Linked DNA regions of Homo sapiens: region 2 is linked to region 1. Evidence: promoter capture Hi-C in 16 types of primary human blood cells and fetal thymus (Javierre and others, 2016). All regions are on one chromosome and are shown on one strand. Each heading gives the region's core, a stretch centred on a gene start or on the middle of the fragment in contact. The rest is flanking DNA. Distances are from core to core; before and after follow the strand shown.

What was found. The method cuts DNA at HindIII sites, captures the fragments that hold promoters and counts their contacts. A CHiCAGO score of 5 or more calls a contact.
Region 2: a contact is called between a fragment that was not itself captured here and the fragment with the promoter of ATP6V0E2-AS1 in region 1, in 1 of 17 cell types (fetal thymus). The highest score is 5.5, in fetal thymus.

Annotation. Positions count from the first base shown.
Region 1 is chr7:149,869,801-149,876,620 of GRCh38, forward strand. It overlaps ATP6V0E2-AS1 (ATP6V0E2 antisense RNA 1), which reads right to left and starts at 4,062. Exons shown (of 4, transcript NR_027040.1): 1 at 3,424-4,062; 2 at 1,842-1,996; 3 at 442-551; 4 at 1-58. ATP6V0E2 (ATPase H+ transporting V0 subunit e2) reads left to right here and starts at 4,169. Exons shown (of 4, transcript NM_145230.4): 1 at 4,169-4,369; 2 at 5,798-5,845. The coding sequence starts at 4,266. RefSeq lists silencers at 3,696-3,905, 3,936-4,015, 4,426-4,605 and enhancers at 3,968-4,936, 4,266-4,405. The HindIII fragment of the contact is 7,156 bases long and covers 1-6,820 here.
Region 2 is chr7:150,405,598-150,412,417 of GRCh38, forward strand. LOC728743 (zinc finger domain-containing protein LOC728743) reads left to right here and starts at 79. Exons shown (of 3, transcript NM_001395976.1): 1 at 79-307; 2 at 1,987-2,891; 3 at 4,563-6,820. The coding sequence starts at 2,015. The coding sequence ends at 2,626. RefSeq lists enhancers at 550-1,058, 1,352-1,401. The HindIII fragment of the contact is 2,546 bases long and covers 1,374-3,919 here.

The DNA of each region.
Region 1 (6,820 bases), core at 2,812-5,311:
TACTTCATCCCTCCAAGCTGAGTCGTATCATAAAATGCATACTTTATGTTCCTTCTGCCTGTAGAGAATCAGAAAGCACATGATGGAGGTTTCAGAAAAGGGCTTGTGAGATCGAGCATGTCAGAGCTGAAGATCTGTGTCTGTGAGACATGTCCTCCTGAAAGAGCACACATGAGCTGACATAGCCACGGCGCCGGATTGCCCTCACCCTGATTGTCCCATCAGTGTAGCTTGTCTCAAGAGGTTTACACTGTGGCTGTGTTTCTCACAGGTTACCCAAACTCCTATCATAAAGGCAGGAAACAGAAGTAAAAAACCTGAATCCAAACCACAGGAAGTGCTGCGGAGATACTGATTCGTGGGTTGATCAGAGCCCAGGAGGCACTAAAGGCTCAATGAACATGGTGATCTTTGTGCAAGAGATGTTCCATCAAGGCTTACCTGGCTGGGTGGTAGCTTTTTGGCCTCTGTTGGGGGCTGGGAATCCTTCACCCAAAGCTCATGTTCCCTTTCAAGTCTACAAGTGATCTCTGGTTTGGCAGCAGCATGCACTGTAGGGAGAAAGACAGCCCAGTGCCCCTCAACCCACACTGAGCGCACATAGACCCGTGTCAGTCCTGAAGCCTGACTTGCACCACCCATTTAATGCCCTGGGCTCACCCTATCAATTTGGGACAGCGGGGGTAGGTTGTAAACCTAAGAGAGCTCCAGAAGTAGGCAGGGCCTGGCATACAGGTAGGGATGTTTATTTCAGGGCAACTTCAGGAGTGCCAAGGGCTGATAAAACAGTGCAATTGTCATAATATGTTTTCCCACTGCCAGGGCCCTTGAAGGAGAAACAGGCTCAACTAGTCACAGAGACAACCATGCTCTGGGTCTAGTTCTCCCTGACCCCACAGGCCAGGAGTGCCCCTATTAGATGGCAAGCAAGCAAGGGGCCAAGGTCCTCACCCAGCAAGACTCCCAGCTCCTAATTCCTTCTTATCACATCCTGGTATAATTCCTTCTACTCATGGCCACCAGAACAATGGGTGGAAGGTAGGTGGTTACATCATTAAATGTCACAGGCCTTATTTGCAAAGACAGAGACATCTGGAGCTGTTGTTCTCACCTCCGACACGTGCCCCGTCTGCAGAGAGCATTAGGATGCATCTGTGGCTCTGAGGTGTGATTTCCTAGGGCCTTCAAGTGTCCTGGGGCTCCTGTTCATTTGCACTGGGGGACACTCAGGGAAGTTTTAAAGAGCCTCTTTCAGTGGCTCCTTCTCCTTCTACCCTTTCTAGGAATTCATCAGCCCCATGAAAAGATGAACGATAGAGATGTCACCAACATCAGGACCCCACTCCCTGGGAGATGTCATGGAAACTTGTCAATCACACCCAAAGCACTCACTGAGGAGCCATGGCAGAGCAGTCGGTGGCGCCAATACCAACCAGAAGCCGCCAGGGCAGAGGGGAACCGTGAAGCCAGTGGAATGCACAGCTCCACCTCAGGGGACCGGGGTAGGCGGGGCTGTGTCTGGTAACATGCCCTTTGCCTCACATTAGTGCCTCTGAAAATAGTGTCCTCAGCCTGGGCACAAACCCTAGGGGTGAGCTGGGAGTGTGGAGGAGACGCTGGATTAGGGAGAAGTCTCGGCCATGTGTTCTGGCTCTTTTACTGATGAGCTGTGTGGGCCTAGGCAAGTTACTTCACTTCTCTGGGCCTCAGTTTTATCACCTGTAAAGTGATAGGATTGCCTTAGCCTCTAAGATCCCTTTCAGCTAAAAACAAAGTTCTAGAAAATAAATATGTGGTACTGTGGAACTCTGGGGAGCTGTTTGATCAGGTGAACAGTTTACCCATGGAAATGGGGCTCCAGCACAAAGCTGCTCACATCTTCCAGTCACGCTCCAGGGAACAGCCAGGGCTTGTGGGCCCAGATGAGGCTTTAGTGGTTGGAGAAGGAGCCAGTTCCTGGTTTTAATCCCTTCATGGACCTCAGACCATCACAAAGCTGCCAAACAAATGACACAGGCAATCACATGCAAATTAGGACAGAAATGAAACATCAAAGACATTAAAGGAAAAGAGTAAGAGCTGCAGGCTGCTAATATGAGTGGCTGCTCAGACTCAGCAATGTTTTTGGTTCTGGCCAAAGCCAAGACAAAGGAGCAGAGGCAAAGAAGGAAATACATTTCACTTTACAGCTGTCATTTTCTACAGAGGATTTTTTTTTTTCCAGAACAAAATTCAAAAAGTCCGTCTTTTTTGAGCTATAGAACTTTCGTGGTGATTTTTTTTTTTTTTTTTTTTTTGAGACGGAGTCTCACTCTGTCCCCCAGGCTGGAGTGCAGGGGCACAATCTCGGCTCACTGCAAGTGCAAGCTCTGCCTCCCGGGTTCACGCCATTCTCCTTTCAGCCTCCAAAGTAGCTAGGACTACAGGTGCCCGCCACCATGCCCAGCTAATTTTTTTATATTTTTAGTAGAGACGGGGTTTCACCGTGTTAGCCAGGATGGTCTCGATCTCCTGACCTCGTGATCCGCCCGCCTCTGCCTCCCATAGTGCTGGGATTACAGGTGTGAGCCACTGCGCTCAGCCCTCGTGGTGATTTTTTGAAGGCCTGTATGGACATACTCTTAACTCTATCTCCTGGATGCCAAGTGCACCCTTATCCTAGGCCAGTGTTCTCAACAATGTACACACTCTGGATGAGAAAAATAACCATTGTTTACAATCCAGCTAAAATCTCACCTCCTCCAGGGAGTCTTCCTGGATTTCTCCACCCTCTGAATTCTCATAATGGGCATTTGGCTACTTTGATCACAGGGCTCTTAGAACTGCGCTGTCCAGCATTATGATTTTACCAGAATATATCACTCCTCAACTACTTTAGAAACCCCTCGAAGGCTAGGATGGTATTTTATACCTAACAGTTTGGTGTCATCCCACGCCCACCTCCAACTTACATGAATGTTGGAAGGATGGATAGGGAGGTTTCAACTAGAGAACGGAGAAGGGCGGATGTAACTGGTTCTTGATTTCAGAAAACAGCCAGGAGCACACATGGCTGACGGGGTCAGTGCAAGGACAGGCACATTTCCCTTCTGCATCACGTGGGGACTGCGCCTCCCTATGTCATGAAGCCAGGGAATATGTGTGGCCGGCCGCTTGGGGTAGCACTTGTTGCTAGAGATACCGCCTGGAGGCCACTGATCTGTAAAAGGGATCTCTACAGAAGATAGGGATTTTTGATCGCCAGAGAAGAAGGGATATGTGAGATCCAAACGCCGAAGGAGGAAAGCAGGCTCCGTGGTCTCTTCCAGCCCTGATGGAAGAAACTACCGAGCCTTATTATACTAGGTGCTTTCCACATGCCTATTCATTTAATCCTCCAGCAACCTTGTAAGAAGGGCCATCCCATTTTATATTTAAACAAACCTTAACTACTGACGCAAGGAGTCAAGGATCTAATCCCAAAGCCTCTGCCTGGTTCGCTGCAGATGGATGTCCGCGAGGACGCCAGCCCTCCGCCTCCCGCCGGGTCCCTGAACGCCGGCCCGGCCGGTCCAACCTCATTCCGCTTCCCGCCATCGAAACGCGAAGCCCCCGCCTTCCCCCAAACGTCTCAGCGCCGCTGGGGCCTTTCTGGCTGCGCCGCCTCCGACCCCAGGCCCCGGTCCGCGCCCGCCGCTCGCTAGTCCTGGGAGTGAGGAGAACGCGTGCTGAGGACCCGGCCAGAGGGACAGCGGGGACCGCCCTCCCGCTGCGTCTCTGAAAGCGAGGCCGTTCCTCCCGCGTCCGACCCCCGCGGGGCCGTCAGGTTCGGGGCGGCCCAGGCTGCGGGTCCGCAGGGCGCTTCGGGCCGAGCCGGCGCGGCGCGTGAAGGGCAGGGGACGCCCCGAAAGACCGCTGGGGTGGGACCCCAAGCTCCAGGGGTCTTTGGAAATAAGAATGCGGCGTGACGTTGGCTGTGCGGGCGCGGGGCTGACGCGGACCCTATAACCCATCGCCGAAACCGGGCGGCCGCGCCCCTATTCCTCGGCATTTCTCTCTGTCCGCGGCCCTGCTCAGCCAATCAGCGAGTGGGCTCCTAGGCAGGTCCTGAGTGACAGCGCGGCGGGCTGGATCAGGAGATGCGCGTGCGCGGCCCGGCCCGGCTGATCGCTTCGGGTGCTCGACTCCTGTTGCGCATGCTCAGCGCGCTGCCCGGCTGGGGACCCGCGCACCTGCAGCGCCCGCTGCTCGGCCCTGCATCCTGCCTGGGCATCCTGCGCCCGGCCATGACGGCGCACTCATTCGCCCTCCCGGTCATCATCTTCACCACGTTCTGGGGCCTCGTCGGCATCGCCGGGCCCTGGTTCGTGCCGAAGGGACCCAACCGCGGGTAAGGAAAGCGCGCAGGCCCTGCAGACCTCTCCACCCCGGCCCCCTGGCCCGGCTCGCCCCTCCGCCCCGGGGCGGCGGCTTCCTGCTCTGCAGCGAGCGTCCGCAGGAGGGACGCCAGGACCCCGGACGCCACCTCTGAGGTCTCTCTGCACCTGGGTCTCTGACAGCCGGGAACAGGCAGGAGGTGGGGCGAGAGGGCATATCCAGAAGGTAAAGAGGAGAGTGACATTGGAGATGTCTGTCACCCCTCCTGCAGCCAGTAAAGGGCACAAGTGGGCACTGACGCAGTTTCTCCACTCCTTGCTAGCTGTGTGACCTAGAGCCAATATCAAGTCTCAGTTTCTTCATGGGTAAAATGGAGATAATGTCGACTCCTGCCTTAAAAGGCTGCTGTGAGGATGACCTGCGGTAACGCATTTAAAACACCTACCAGTGCGTGACACTTTGTAGGTATGGGATAAGTTTAGCTGGCGTTATTTTTCGAAGGTCCTCTAGCAGATTGCTGCGCCATTCACCAGTTTCTGCTTCATATTATCTTCAGTTACAAAGCACCCTTCCCTTGACTGCATGTTCCCAGGGGCTGGAGTTTGTCCAGTTCACCATTGTCTACTCAGTGCCCAGCCAGGACTGGCACAACCTGCTTAGTAATGTTGAAAAAGGGATCGCGTGCTCCTGTGTCCAGCACCAGCTTGCAGTGCTTTAGATCAAAGATCAAGGGCCTCGTTTGGATTAGAGTTAGCTTTGCCCAAAGGCCGTTTGGACATGTGAGTGCTGCCTTTGTTCTTAAAGACAGGCAGGGTTTGGGATCCCACAGCTTCACTTTGTAAACCATTTTCGTGTCTTGCGTCTCCTGCTATTCTTGGTGAGTTCTTGCTTCAGTTTGACTGAAATTTCTTTTGCTGCACTTGAAGCATCTGTCTCTGGTCTTCTCTGAGTACACGCAAAGTGGCTAGTCCCTGTTCTCTTTGTAACAACTCACTGGGCCTCAGAACTGGCTCACAGTCTGCCTGCTTCTTGCCCTGTCTTCTAGCCTATTGTTTTCCTTCCCCTTGCTCCATGAATTTTGAATTCTACAGACCACTCCCTGTTGGGTTGCCACAAATGCAGCTCTGTGCAGTGCCTTTCCACAACACGTCTGCATTAAGATGGAGCAATATTGGGTGGTAGAGAAGGGAAATGAAGGGAAGGATTCTTAAGGCAACTTGGATGTGGTCAAGGTTGGCCTCTCTGTGAGGTGACACTTTCAGTTTTTATTTTCTGCCTTGCTATTCTTACCCTGAGTAGAACTCAGCCTCCTGTGTCCAGGAGGCATCAGGAAGGCCAATGGAAAAGAGCTCACACCAGGAGCTCTTCTTGCTCTGGTCCTGGCCAGGCCTTGTGAGGTGCTGGCTGCATTTGTTCTGACCCGTGTCCTCTTCTGCTGCAGAGTGATCATCACCATGCTGGTCGCCACCGCCGTCTGCTGTTACCTCTTGTAAGTACTACTCTCCCCAGCTCAAAGTCAGCCAGTTCCTTTGTCCTCCCTCCTTTCCTCCTCACCCTAGCCTGCTCTTCCTTCTGTCCTGGTAGTAAATGCCTCTTGAAAGGCTGAACCTATAAAACAACAGGAGTGGAGGTGGTGTGGAATGGGAAAGAGAGCAGTGGGCCAGAAGTCATGAACCCTGGGCTCTGGATCTGGCTCTGCCCCCAGAGTTCTGGCCCCCATGGGCTGTAGTTTTCTCACCTGGGCAAGGAAGGAGGCAGGCCACCTCAGTGCTGTCTGTGCCTGACTGGGTCACCTGGAGTGATTGTTCAAACACAGTTTTCAGGCTGCACCCTACACCCATGAAATTACAACTCTCGAGATCTGCACTTGGGAATTCCTGTTGTTCATGAATGCCCCCAGGTGACTGGAATGCAGCCATCTTAGAACCACTAGGTGAGAGGCCAGACGTGGCGGCTCACGCCTGTAATCCCAGCACTTTGGGAGGCTGAGGTGGGTGGATCACGAGGTCAGGAGTTCGAGACCAGTCTGGCCAACATAGTGAAACTCCGTCTCTACTAAAAATACAAAAATTAGCCAGGCCTGGTGGCGCGTGCCTGTAGTCCCAGCTACTCAGGAGGCTGAGGCAGGAGAATCGCTTGAACCCGGGAGACGGAGGTTGCGGTGAGCCAAGATCTTACCACTGCACTCCAGCCTGGGCAACAGAGTGAGACTCCGACTCTAAAAAAAGAACCACTAGGTGAGAGTAAGTCATCAAACTTGGAATAGGTACCCTGGGGATATAGAAGAACATTCCAAGGGACTTGAATACCTGGAGAGTGTGAGGAAATCAGTTTGCAGATCCTCAGTGTCTATTGTTTAGTCTCTTGCTAAAACTGCCATTCACAATAGCCAATCCCTCTTTATTAAAAAAATTTTTTAAAAGGAAAAAGAAAAAGACCCTGCCCCCGCATCCATCCCAAACCT
Region 2 (6,820 bases), core at 1,397-3,896, 530 kb after region 1:
GTGGAGGCCTACGTATTTTCGTGGGGGTGGGGTTGCGACGCAGAGTTTACCATATTTCTCCAGGGTTGCTCCGGCCGCAGAAGTTGGCAAGGTTGTGTGTAAGGTCGGGTGGGGTGGGGTCAGCTCTCCCGATTAATGCAGCTATTTGATAAGAGCAACGTCGCGGGACGCTTGCCGTCTTTATGGGGGCGGGGAGAAGGGGCGCGGGTGTCGCTGCGGGAGAGTTACCGTATTTGCGTTGAGCAGCGCAGACTGTAGAGCAAAGAGCTGCGGCCGGAGACCGGAGGAGCAGGGGCTCAGCTGGGCTGTGAGTGTGGCATGGGAGGAAAGAACTTGGGGGAGAGACGGGGGGCCTTTCGGCGTGCAGGCGGGGCCTCAGTCAGGGGTATAGCTGGGGAGAGTGAGGAGGCTGCCCAGTCACAGGGCCGGGCTGAGATTGGCCAAGGGGACTTTGATGATCTGTCTTTGCAGATGTCAGTGCAGCTGCCTGTGGAAAAGACTTGTGGGTGGGGTCTCTTGCAAGTAGGACTTGTCTCCTTCCCCAGGGTCAGTTCCACCCCGGCCTCGAGGGTACGGAAGACAGAGGAGGTGGCCCTGAGACCCCACTCTGCAGATAGGTTGACTGAGGCTGGAAGTGAAGAGAGGCCTTCGGGGAGGTCCAGTGGAATATTCAGCCGGCTTCCCTGATGGGGTTGGGGAGAATGGATGAGGCAGGCCTTAGGGCCCTGCAGGAGCCCAAGTTTTGGTGGGGGTCGTGGGAGTGGTGGCAGTAGACAGTGCATCTACAGGAGAAGTGGCCCTTTGGAATGCATGGCTCTGTGACGGCTGGGATGGTGGCAGTGGGGGGTGTGTGTGTGTTTTGAGGAGTGTTTAGTTGTTGAGCAGCTAGTACATTGAAAAGAGCTTTCAACAGTGAGACAGGAGACTTAAGGCCTAGTCCAGGCTCACCTTGCTCTGTGACCTTGGCAAGTATGTTGACCTCACTGAGCCTCAGTTTCCCCATCTTTAAAGTGGGGCTCAATAACCCTGCTCCGCCCCTTTCTCAGGGCTGTTGTGAGGACAATGGGAAACAATTTAAGAGGAACACAGTGTCCTGGGAAGAGGATCCTTTGGAGAAGCAGCATGAAGGGAGCTGGGTTTGGGGGTGTTGGCTGGGCACTGAGGGTGCTGCTCAGCCTTGGGCCAGGCTTTGCTGTGAGGATACCAAGAGGAATCACGCTGAGACCAGTCCCCCTGGGAGCCCACACCCTGGTTCAGTGACTTGGAAACCTTTTGAACACATGCCTCATTTTGATAAACAAAGAGCTGCCGCCTTTAATGTTTAACCGAGGTCACTTTCAAGTTTACAGGGTTGTGTTTTTTTTCCTGTTTTAAGCTTCACAAAAATATCTTTAAATCACTGATAATGCCACCCTTTTCTCCAAGTTTGGGGTGCACTTCCCTACCTCCCCCTGTCCTTGAGATCTGGTTGGAGGGATAAGACATATCTAGACGAAGGTAACTGAAAATCCTAGCTGAAACTGAAACTGAAAATCCTAACTGAAACTCATCACCATCTGTCTAGTGTCTTGTGTGGCTGGCTGGCATGGTGCTAGGTGCTGGGGTTGAAAGAAGGCAGCTCTGTCCTTAGGGTGCTGGGAGTCGGGGGACAGAGGTGGCATGACTGACCCTCGTGCAGTATGATCAGTGAGAGCCACATGGTTGTGTCACACGGTGTTTAAGCCCGGGGTGGAAAGGTCAGGGAAGGCTTCTAGGAGAAGGTGCCCTTGGGAAGGGACTGGAAGGAGTGTAGGCCGTGCTTAAAAGGCAGTGGAGGAAGAGGAACACCAATTCCCAGCAGGGGAACTTGAGCTTGAACAAAACGGGGCGAAAGGTGGAGGTTGTGGGAGGTGAGTGTCCCTGCCAGGCTGGGGGTTGGCTAACCCTCGTGTTCCCCGACCCCTCTCTCTCCACCCCCCACCCCCGCCCCCGCTTCTGTCTCCCTAGGGACTGGTGATTGCAGCTGGAAGTGCCCATGACCGAGCTGGCGTCCTCCGGGGGCGGGTCCCCTGCGGGGGACGGGGAGGAGGGTCTGGGGGACGAGCGAGGCCTGGTCATCCACCACCCTGCAGAGGAGCAGCCCTACCGCTGCCCGCTGTGCGGCCAGACCTTCTCGCAGCAGCCCAGCCTGGTGCGGCACCAGAAGGCGCACGCCGGAGCGGGCCGCGCGGCTGCCTTCGTGTGTCCCGAGTGCGGCAAGGCCTTCAGCGTCAAGCACAACCTCGAGGTGCACCAGCGCACGCACACCGGGGAGCGGCCCTTCCCCTGCCCCGAGTGCGGCCGCTGCTTCAGCCTCAAGCAGAACCTGCTCACGCACCAGCGCATCCACAGCGGCGAGAAGCCGCACCAGTGCGCGCAGTGCGGCCGCTGCTTCCGCGAGCCGCGCTTCCTGCTCAACCACCAGCGCACCCACGCGCGCATGCCCGCGCCGCACCCGCGCCGCCCCGGCGTCTTCGGGGAGCGGCGGCCCTACTTCTGCCCCCGCTGCGGCAAGAGCTTCGCGCGCGAGGGCTCGCTCAAGACCCATCAGCGCAGCCACGGCCACGGGCCCGAGGGCCAGGCGGCCCACTTAGGACGCGTGCTATGATGCGCCCGGGGCCTGCTGCCGACGGCTGCTTCCCGCCCCGCACGTGCGTCCCCGACCCCTGGAGATGGCCCTGGGCCGCAGCTCCCTCTCTAGATGGGATCCCGGGAGAGGGGCAGCGCTGGCTTGGGCTCTTGAAGGTGTGGGCCGCCGCCAGGCTCCGGCCGCCCGCTCGCGTTCCTCCCTCGGGACCCTCTGGCTGGCTGCGCACAGCTGCTTCCGGCTCCTGCCATGGTTCTCCTTCTCTGGCCCATCCGGCCTAGAGCAGGTGAGACCTGCGGGGCTGGCCAGAGCCCCTCTCAGGGCTGGGAGTGGTGGGGGTGGAGTGCGTGGTGTTGATTCTTGATGGCAGGTGGGGCGGTCTGGGTACCGGGCTGTAGGTTTCTCTGTGATGAGCTGCTTACCGGATCTTCATCCCCAGAATGTCAGAGTTGAAAGAGACTTGGAGAGGCCACTTTCCACAAACCCCACGCCCAACCTCAGCCCCTAGGCCTCCTGGCTCCTGTACACACTCTCTGCTGTCCTTGAGATGTCATTTCACTTCATGTTTCAGTTTACTCATCTGTAAGTTGGGGATATAGATGAGGGACTCTTCCTCGCTGGGATATATTGCAGCTACTGGATGAGAGAGGGTGAGGTCACTGGTGCACAGAGCCTTAGTTGATTCTGCCACACCATGTGCCACTGACTGTGCCGGGCTGGGCTCTCCCAGAGACACACATGAGGACCGCAGGCCCTGACACGGGGTGCTCACACTCGGTGTGTGACGCGGGGCCAACCTACAAAGTGCTCTGGGGTGAGACCGAGGAGGGTGACTGGTTTCTCTTCGTCACCCAGGGGAGTTTGATGGCTTTGAACCAGGTCATGGGGACAAATAAAATTGTTCTAGGAAGAGCAAGTGTGTAGAAGGGTGTTTTCAAGGGAGGGGGGGTCCTGATAGTTCAGTGACTGTCTCCAGGTGTCCCAAGGGGAGGTTTGCCCTACAAAGGACTTCGTGGTCAGGGGGTGGGGACACTGAGATTTTTAATGAGATGAGTGCTATGATCTCAGACTTATGCTTTAGGAGGAGAATCAGAGGCACTGTGAGGACAGACTGATGTGGGAAGAGCTGGAGCCTCGAGGGGCTTGGGTCATCTGGGCAAGAGAACATAAGGCCCCCAGCTAAGAGGCCTGGCCAAGGTCTGGCAGTGAGAAAGGGGGCAGCCAGGACTCTGCTCCAGGACCTCTGGTTCCAAGCTGGCGCTCTGAGGCACGGGCCTCTTCAGCCTTTTGGCAGATGAGGAAACAGGTTTGCCAAGCTTGCCTACACCACAGTTGGTACTTAGGGGTACAACAGGTGGAAGCCAGGGCTTTGTTTTGGATTCTGAATCCCAGAACCTTTTAGCTTCACTGCTTAAAAAGTGGACGATGGAGCAGGGAGGATTTGGGGCCATGTGATAGGAGCTGGGGCAGGGGTGTTAGGGGTGGTACGGGTGTTTGAAGGGGACATGGCATCCCTGGGAGTGGTTTGGGAGGAAGGGAGCTGGGGCTTCGAGGGGACCTGCACATTCAGTCCTGTGCTGGGTGCTGGAGACTCGTCCCTCCCCACTGCCCCCTCTGCCCATCCTCAGTGCTATGTGGCTATGGCTCCTCGGAGACTGTCCTCTGCCTACCACTCCCAGGTGCTGTAGACTAGCATTGGTGGCAAAGATGAAATTAAACAGGGGCTTCGGACACCTGGAGTCAGTCACCAAAATGCCCTGAACCCAAGGTGTCTCATCTGTAAATGGGATTCGTAATCCTTGCAGTGCTTGGTAGGGGACAAAGAGGATTCATTCAAACCCTAGGACAGATTCAGGGTAGGCCAGCTGATCGCTCCCTCCTAGCCCCAGAGGGGTGGCTGGGCAGGGCCATGTCACGGCTCCACACCTGATCCTGATCTCTTTGTTTCTGTCGACAGTTGCAGAGTGGGCAGGATCTTAAGACCCGATAGGTGCAGAACCCATCTGGACACGGAGACCAGGAATGGAGTTCCATGGAGGCCTGGCTGGCACTGCACCCGGGCATGAGGACACATCCAGTAAGAAGACCTGCCTCAAGAGGTGCACTGCGGTGACCAGTGGAGGTGACTGGTTGGAGCCTGGAATTGGAAGCAGATTCCAAGCTCTGGTGGACAAACTCTCCAGGCCTGGTGGGAATCACAGCTGGGGCAGACCTCATCCTGGCTGCCTGGCCACAGGCCCCCACTCTCTGCCACTGGTGGTAGGACGATGCCTGTGTGGAGAGCTGGCTTCTCTGCTCCCGCCTGGTCCACCACTTGGCTAGAGTTCAGAGACAGGAAGTGATTGGTCTAAGCTAACACAGCAAGTTGGTGGCAGACCTGGTTCTAGAGGCAAAACCTTCTTCCAGATGTGAATGAAACCTGCAGGCTTCATTTTCCTTTCTGAGCAGTGCTTCTTAGCTCTTTGGAGACACGAAGCCCTTGGAAAATCTGATGAAGGTTACGGACCTTCCCTAGGAAAACAGATAACTGACGTAGACTCAAAAACCCCAAGCAATTTCAGGAGCCACTGGACTCCCTGAATGAAACCCATCCCTGGACTCCAGGCTAAGAACCTCAGCCCTGGGGACTTCACCTGCTGCCCTTTCCTTACCTGTCACACATTGAGCCCCGAGTCAAGGCCACTGTACAAGTAGTGCCCCTCCCTCCCCCTGGCCAAGCCTCCTTCCCTTGTTCAGGAATAAAGAATTCCGAGGAGCCCTTTTTAGTCATTCCCTTCTCCCAGACCTAACGAATGGTGCGTCAGGTTTCTGGAGCCTCATTTCCCTTCCCCAGACATTGGCAGAGGTCCCTTGGGCTAGATTTTCTCTTCTGGTTTTGTTTCTTGTTCTGCCTGACTGGCCGCTGGCTTCCACAAAGGAGCCCTTTGCTCCTGGCCTGGGCTCTGATTTCACTGTGTGGTCTCAGGGGAAGCTGGACTGCTGTGGACGCTGGTGGGAGCTTGAGTCTGGTCTGAGTCTGCCCCAGGGAGAAAGAATCCTGCTTCCACCAACCAAGCCCAGTCAGCGGTTCCTCCCAGCTGGCCAAGTGTTCAGCCCAGTGGGCTGGGGAGGAAGAGGATGAGGGCCTCGCTCCTGGTGCCTGTGGCTCTGGGCAGGGTGAGAGGTCGGTGGAGGATCTTTCTGTGTGTTCTCTGAGTATGCAGCAGTGCAGTTGAAGGGAACAGGGCCCAGGCAGGCAGCAGGGCAAGGACTCCTCCCATCTTCACACCTGAACCAGTCAGCCTGGAAGCTACAAGTTCTCACCTGCCTCCCCAGAATGAACATCAGAAAAGGCAAAACTGACCAGGGCTGGGATGGGTTTGGGTCAGCGTGGTTGGAGGGCAGCCTGTGGATCCCTGCACTGGAGTCTTGCTGTCTTCGATGCAGGTTGGATCATACATTGTTACCTCCTACTGTATGCCTCACCCTGGAATAGCAGAATGCTCAGGGGGAGATCCGAGAACGAGAAGGTGCTCCCAGCCCCAGGAGCTTCCAGTCTGGCTCTGATCCTTGGCCGACCTAGAGGAAACCTCCACACACGCCCCTTTTGTGCTAATGGTGCAGTTTGTGTCCCCCTCTGCCCATCACTGTGCTGTGCTTGTTCCTGCCTCTGTGCCTTCCCCTATACTGCTCGGACATGTCCCCTTTCCTCTCCTCTACCCAGCTAAGCCCTTCTGATCCACGGGGCCCGGCTTCCCAAACCACCCAGCCCACATTCCTCCTTCCTGCTCCGAACAGGTCCGGTGTGAGCCCCTGCCCCCGAACTGCGTGCTGTCCCATGGACGCTCCAGTCTCTTCCGTGTGTGTCTTGAGTCCCTAACTAGACAGTTAGCTCCCTGAGGGCAAGGGACTGTCATTTCCTCTTGAGTCCTACCAGGGTCTAGCACAGGACTGGGCTCCTAACTCTCAGGAAACACTTGTCGGCTGACTGGTGCCTCAAGCGCTGGAGCTTGTCGGTGGCCGGTAATGGGCAGTGCACGTGGGGAGAGGGTATGTGAGTTAACTCAAGGGTGCCTTTTCTTGGGCTGTGGGCTGGCTCCCCTGGGTCAAAAGTGGATGTCGGAGGCCTCAGGCTCTTACCTCCTTGGGGCAGTGGGAGCATCAGGGACCCCCACCCCCACCCCGGCTCTGCAGGAGTGCACGGAAGTGGTCGTCCAGCCTGGATATTTCTACAGG